Regions from separate parts of the Homo sapiens genome. Here region 2 is linked to region 1. The links are contacts of gene promoters, found by promoter capture Hi-C in blood cells and fetal thymus (Javierre and others, 2016). All regions are on one chromosome and are shown on one strand. Each heading gives the region's core, a stretch centred on a gene start or on the middle of the fragment in contact. The rest is flanking DNA. Distances are from core to core; before and after follow the strand shown.

Region 1 (3,386 bases), core at 259-2,758:
GTTGTATGTTTTCCTTGGGAAATTTGTAATCAGACCTTTACATTTTTATGTACTGTTATATCTACGTCTGGATATTATTACTGAACATCCTCTAGCATTTGTGAAATAATGCTGTATTACATAATCAGATATACTATTTGTGGATCAATTAGTAAAACTTTAAAGCAAATTTTAAATTAATTAAAAATTTTGGTGAAAACTAATTTTACTCTGATTGAAAAGTAAACATTACAATCCCCTTCAGTACTCACAGCCTCAGAGAACTGTATCAGTCACACTAAAAGTCACTTGGGAGAATTCCTCAGTAGATTATAGAAAAAAATAATCCACCATTTTTAAAATCAAGAAAATACACACACACTAACTATAATTTATCCTTTCTAACAATCCCAAAGGGAATCTACTCTTACCACTCAAATGGCTAGTGCTTCTAAAAATTAAAACAACCCCTGCCCCACCAATGTTCTTTTTAATGCCCCCTCTCATACTCTTGGAATTTACTTAACAAATCACTATCTGCTTGTGGTAGGAAAAATCTGTAAGCCCCTCTACAAGGCCCCTGTCCTTTCGGTTGCTTGATATTTCCCCCAGATTCTCAGAGCAAATTTGGTTTTTCTTAAAAATCGCCATCCTCAAAGCAGTATATTCCTGATGTTCCGACAGTGAGTCTCACTCTAGCTAGCTGCTACAAAAACCTTTCATTCAGAAGAAGGCAAGAGGTTTCACCGACCGTGCACAGCCCTCTCATTCACACACTTCATAAACAACAGGACTTTGCCCAACCCTCTCCTCTAGGAAGGCATCCCAGTTTTTTTTATCAACCAGTTTGCAGCATCAGTATCATTCCCTTCCAAAAGACCTTGCAGAAAAATTATGGATTTCACAGCATAGGATTAGGGCTGGAAAGGACCGATGTCATTGCATAGACTCACCAATTCTGTCCACATTTCAAAACAGCAGCTAATGCTTTCTTAAAGCTCACATCTGAAAATCCTTTTAGGATTGAGAGCAATTAAAAGGGGAATCATAACCCCCGTGGTTCCCCCATAAGGTCCTGACAGATCTGATAAATGGAACTGAGTCAGAGATACAGAGGCTGGGCTGCTGGGGAAAGAAAATGGCTTGTCTCCTCCAGGCCCTAATTCCTTCCTCTGAAACAGTTCCCTTTAAATTCAAGAAACCATGCAGAGATGTACCCCCCCCCACCCCCCTTGCAGGTTTTCGTTTTTTAAAAGAAAGCCTGTCTGCCTCTTGCTCGCCCCCATGATACTCACGGCAGCTGCCTTAGCTGGAATAAGTCCTCCTCCATGTCCGCGCTGCGCCAGGATGAGCCCTTCTCATGGCCCTTACATGGTAGTGGTGGATGACGAGCCCTCCGGTTTTCAGCACCGGGAAGCTGGACAGCACCCGCGCCGCTTCCTCCCTGGAGCAGCAGCTGTTCGGGGAGGGAGCCGCTGGGGACCAGCCCACGAGACAAAGCCTCCGCCGCCAGGAGACCGCGGCGAGAGTGGGCGGAGAAGAGGAGGCGGAGGGCAGAGCGAGCTGCGCGGGGAGAGGGGGCAGGGAGAGCCCTTCTGCTTGGAAGAGTTCACAGGCTCTCTGGCTGATGGTGTATCACTGGGATGCCTATAGGGCACACCAGTCTGTGAAATGGTTGTCCGGGTACCAGTGAGCACCCTTTGATTGACGATGCGTGTCTAAATGTTTATTTGCGTGGATTCATTAATGTTATCCGTATAACACTCTTGAAACCCAGGCTGCTGTAACAAATACAGGCATGCATTTAAGTACGGTTTACTGAGCACCTATGTGCCAGGCACTGTAATAGGCACTGGGGGTATGACAGAACAAATTCGACCTGTCATTGTCATCGTGGAGCTAAGGGTCTAGTGAAATGAATCAAGAAAAGAAAAATGTAAATTAGGTATGAGAAGGCCAAAGATCACTCATTCTTTCAACAAGCGTTATTGGGTGAATTCTACAGCCCTGACCCTGGGGAATAAAAACATGAGTAAAATAAAGTCTCTGCCTTCAAGATCCTAGATAGTTTAATGGTTCCCCTAAGCCACCTCTCACTAGAATTTCTGACCCCTTTAGAACTTAAGCTCCATGAGGTTTCACTGATGTGTCCCAAGTACTAGAACAGTGTCTGGCACATAGAAGGTACCCCATAAATATTTGTTGAATAAATGGTTCTCAGTTCAGGCTGCATATAAGAATTGCCTGGCTCCATTTCAAACCAATTGAACTCAACTCTCGGGAGGTGGAGGCCAAGCCTGGGTATTTTTTATTTTTTCAATATTTATTTATTTATTTTTGAGACAAGTTCTTGCTCTGTTGCCCAGGCTGGAGTTGCAGTGGCATGATCATGGCTCATTACAGCCCCAACCACCTGGGCTAAAGCAATCCTCCCACCTCAACCTCCCTAGTAGCTGGGATCACAGGCTCATCCCAGCATACCCAGCTAATTTATTTATTGTAGAGATGGGGTCTTGCTTTGTTGCCCAGGCTGATCTAGAACTCCTGGCCTCAAGCAATCCTCCCATCTCGGCCTCCCAAAATGCTGGGATTATAGATGTGAGCCATTGCGCCCGGCCTCAGGGTATTTTTTAAAAGCTCCCCAGCACCATGAAGTGGAAACCCCTGATCAAGTGTGAACAAATGAAAAGAAAAGCTGGAAAATTATACAACAGAAAACTACTAAGATGATCCATGATGGCAACTGGCAAAAGCTATGAGAATGACCGTTGAATGGACACTTACAAGGAACTAAAGGAAGAAGGAAACATTTTTTTCTTTTTTTCTTTAATTGTTGACAAAGGGTGGGGGAAGTTGGAAGAGGGAACAAGAAAACCAATCTGAGAACTGAAAACAATCTCACATCGAATCCATAAAAGGACTTGAAAATCCAAAATTGAATGTGTGCCAGGCACCCGGATATGTACTTCACCATGGTCCCCTTGATCTTTGCAACAATCCTATGAGCAGGTGTGATTTTTATCCTTATTTTGTAAGATGAGGAAACAAGGCTCAGAGAAGGGTAGATTTGCTTGCACAAGGTCATGAGGACAGGAAAGAGTTGATCTGGACTTAAAACCCCGGCAGTCTATCTCCACAACCTGCGCCCTTAAATGCTAGGCTTTCTCTGAGTGTCTCAAAAGAAACCATCCATTGCGGGTATAGTAGGAGAAATTGGAACTATTGAAACATTGGATAACTTTAAACAAATCTAATGTTGGGAAAACCAATTATACAGTGGTACTCAAGCTCCAATGTATTATTTATCTAGTAAATATTAATGAGCAACAACTATGTGTCTGTCACAATGATAGTTTGAACTTATTCATGGCTCCTTCTCACCTCATACTGGAGTCAATCACAAGTTG
Region 2 (3,386 bases), core at 314-2,813, 290 kb after region 1:
TCATCTACTTCAACAAGATCAATTAAATGATGAGGAAGTGAGGCCCAGGGCAAAGGACTTGCTGAATGTCACACAGCCTGGCTGAGAACTTAGCATATCTGACTACTTTCTTAACATCTGTGGAGGATAGAACCCAATTCCTCCCAGAAGGTTTTTTTTTGGCAGGGGGTGGGGGAGCATTTCCCACAGCCCCCATTAAGGCCACTGGAGGGGAAGCAGTAGCTGCTATTGTCATCTTAACATTCACCAGGATGCCCAAACAGTATCAAATGCAGAAACGGACCTCTTTTGGAGGGGACAAGAGACAGCAGGCATTTCGTGGTCCCACTGGGCCAGGTTGTGGCCCAGACACCCTTAGCAAGACCAACATTGAAATCAAGACTTTCCAGCTCTCCCGCAAAAATCACAGAATTGAACATAACAATAGTTCTTGGGCAGTTTCAGAAACCATAAACAGCATACAAACACTTTGAGCAATTAAAAAATATATAGTTTGTTATTGTTGGAGCCCTCACCTGTATTCCTGTGGAGAGGGGTGGTGATTTTGCCCTGAGTTTCGAATAATTCCTGACATTATGGATGAGGTGTCACTTTCTATCATCTCCTTGGGAAAAGACAAGCAGAAAACAAAGCTCCCATCAGCGACGATATGGACAGGGCAGAAACCCACAGTTTTCCCGCAATTCAGAAAGATGGAGCACAATCAACTCACAGAACACTTTTTTTTTCTTTAAAGAAAAAAGTTCTAGAGGATTCCTGGGCATCTCAGGTCACTTTCCCAGGGCAATTCTACAGCGTTTTAGAAACAAATGAAGAGAATGAAATGAAATTCCCGGTTCTTTCGAATTAATGGGGGAAGAGCAAGGGAAGCTCTAGAATCCAAATGTCAAACCTGGAAAATGTGGACTCACAAAATAGGAATCAGAAAAACGATTTCCTTCCAAGCCTTATATTTTCAACCTCAGTTTGGTTATGATCACTTTCAAAATAAGGGGCAGCTGGATGTGACATGTGTATTTCTCTGGGGGAACAAATTCCCACTTGCAAAGGGAATAATCCCCGCAAGCTCCTGCCCTGAAATGCCTTCAGAAATGCCACAAGCCCTTACTGGAAAACCAATCCAACCACCCACGTCCCCGCAACACACAAACACTGCCTTAAAAAAATAATAAAAATATTTGAGTTCCCTAAGTTTCTCAAACTCCAAGCCTGAACCAACATAAAAGCCCACCAAAGCCTCAGTTCCGCCCCCAAAGCCATCGAAGGATTCCCAGGAAGGAGGAAAAGGGAGCAGAGGGAGGCGGCCCCGCAGCCCCTGCGCCCGGGTCTCTACCCTGGAAATGCAATGCCCGGCATTGCCCGGGAGGAGGGAGCAAAGCCGACCCTGCAAGGCGGTACCTGGAGCCGATCCTCGCGGGGCCGCCGCTGCCGGCGCTCCGGGGGTGGGCAGGGGTTCCGGAGGGGGGCTCCCTCGCGCTCGCCCCTCGCGTTCCGCAATTTGGCCGCCGTCGCAGCTCGAACCGTTTTTAAATTTCCCTCTCTGGAGCTGTCCAGCTCAGAGCATGCGCAGTAGCCGTGCGGGGGGCTTTTCCCCAAGGGTCAGTTACAGGGCAGGGTCAAGGGGATTGCAGCGGGCGTTTCCCAGCAGCCGCGAGCCTTGCACGCCCCGGGGTTCTGGGGGGGGGGTGTGTGTGAGGGGGGCGGGGCGGAGGAGTGCAGGGGTAGGGACCCCTCTTCAAACTTTGCCAACAGTGACAACAACTGCATGCCCGAGAGCATGCGTTGAGGAGCAGTGGGAGGGTGATTTCGGCCAAGGGAATTAAGTTGCAAAAGGAGGCTGGGTGCATTAAAACTTGCAATCCCGCCTGGGGCAAAGGACGTGGGCGGGCGGAGAGATCTGTTGCAACCCCCTCTCTCCCCCAAAGTGGAGGACGGGCCGGGAGGCAGAGACGGGGCCCCAGGTGGACGCGGATTCGGTCCACCTGTCCCTTTAAGAAAGTTGCGCCCGCGCGGGCTGGCGCGCAGCGGGAGGGGGCTGCGGAGCGGGGCGCGGGGCGCCTCCACCTGCTGGGGCCGCGAGGGGGGGCCCGGGCCCAGCGCGGCGGCGAGGCGAGGAGGGCTCCCCGGGACTGCGCGCTGCGCCCCCCTGTCCCGCGAGGAGGGTGAGCCCGCCCGGAGCGAGTGCGGCGGGGCTCGGCGGCCCCGGCAGCCGCGACGACGGCGACGGCGGTGGCGGTGGCGGTGGCGGCGGCGGCGGAGGCGGAGGCTGCGGCGTTCGGGGTACGGCGCCGCGAGCCCAGCGCAGCCGTTGGGGGCAGTGGCCCGCGTGTGCAACCGCGCTCCCTCCCTTCCCCGCCGCCCGGCCCGCGCCGCCGCTGCCCCGCCCCGCCTGGAGCCAGCCGCGGGAAAGGTGGCGCGGACCGCGGACGGCGGCGGGGCCCAGAGCGGGCAGAGGTCTCCACAGGCCCCTTAGGAGGCTTGGATGAGTTTGGTCCCCTGGAAAGTTTGCGTTTCTGGCGCCCTAACTCTCAAGCCTCCGTTGCAGTAATTGCCACGGCAGCAACGATATTAGGCACGGCTACCCCCATTCTTTCGTTACTTATTGACGCCTGCTTCTGGGTTCTTCTTCGCATCAGCCCTTGATGACATAGCATGGTCCTCCTTTTGCATGGGGGGAACCCAAAGCCCCGAGCGGCAGTGAGTGGGTCGGCGGCGCACGGGCAGAGCGCGGGCTCCCGCACCTCCCCAGCTCGCGTACTGCACGTGGACCTCTGCGCCGCCCCCACCGAGTGAGGCTCAGGCACCCGAAGCGTCTGGAGTTGTTTTGAGGCTGTCCTCGCGTTATCTACTTCGCAGCAGGCAGGGGACCAGTGTCCCCGCACCTGTGACTGTTTTTTTTTTTTTAAACCCAGTGTTTAAGTTCAGGAAGAACTCAGGGCTCCCCTGGACTGGGTGTGCCTGGATTTCAAGTTCTATTCAGGTGGGCTGTGACCTTGGCACTGGTCCATGTCCTCACAAATGGTTTTCTGGTAGCACCTGGACGTCCTTCCTCCTTTCTTCTCTGCCAGGAGTAAATAGATCAGCTTTCATTCTCTAGGGAGGAAAAAGATGTAGTTTACAGATGTTAGTTGAGGTCACAGTCATGAAACTTTCTCAGTTTTCATCTCCCGCGACCAGCATGTATTTAAAATGTGTGTTTTGACCGGTTAGGAAAGTGGTTTACATAGTTTATGTTGCTTTGAATGTCCCTGAATGACATATAATTAATTCACCAGTAAAGTTGTAAGCATTCAAAGCATTTGGGTTTATTTCTGTTAATCCTTCTTGGAGTTGTAAGGAAACGTGGGTGACTTGACAACCTCCTTGTGAGGTCACAGTCATTTTCA

The links. The method cuts DNA at HindIII sites, captures the fragments that hold promoters and counts their contacts. A CHiCAGO score of 5 or more calls a contact.
Region 2: the fragment with the promoter of FOXN4 here is called in contact with the fragment with the promoter of SVOP in region 1 in 9 of 17 cell types (total CD4 T cells, erythroblasts, activated CD4 T cells and 6 more); the score reaches 9.3 in total CD4 T cells.

Annotation. Positions count from the first base shown.
Region 1 is chr12:109,019,560-109,022,945 of GRCh38, forward strand. SVOP (SV2 related protein) reads right to left here and starts at 1,509. Exons shown (of 16, transcript NM_018711.5): 1 at 1,275-1,509. The coding sequence starts at 1,309. The HindIII fragment of the contact is 11,834 bases long and covers 1-3,386 here.
Region 2 is chr12:109,307,721-109,311,106 of GRCh38, forward strand. It overlaps FOXN4 (forkhead box N4), which reads right to left and starts at 1,564. Exons shown (of 10, transcript NM_213596.3): 1 at 1,399-1,564; 2 at 516-604. The coding sequence starts at 601. It also overlaps a transcript of MYO1H not described here. The HindIII fragment of the contact is 5,817 bases long and covers 1-3,386 here.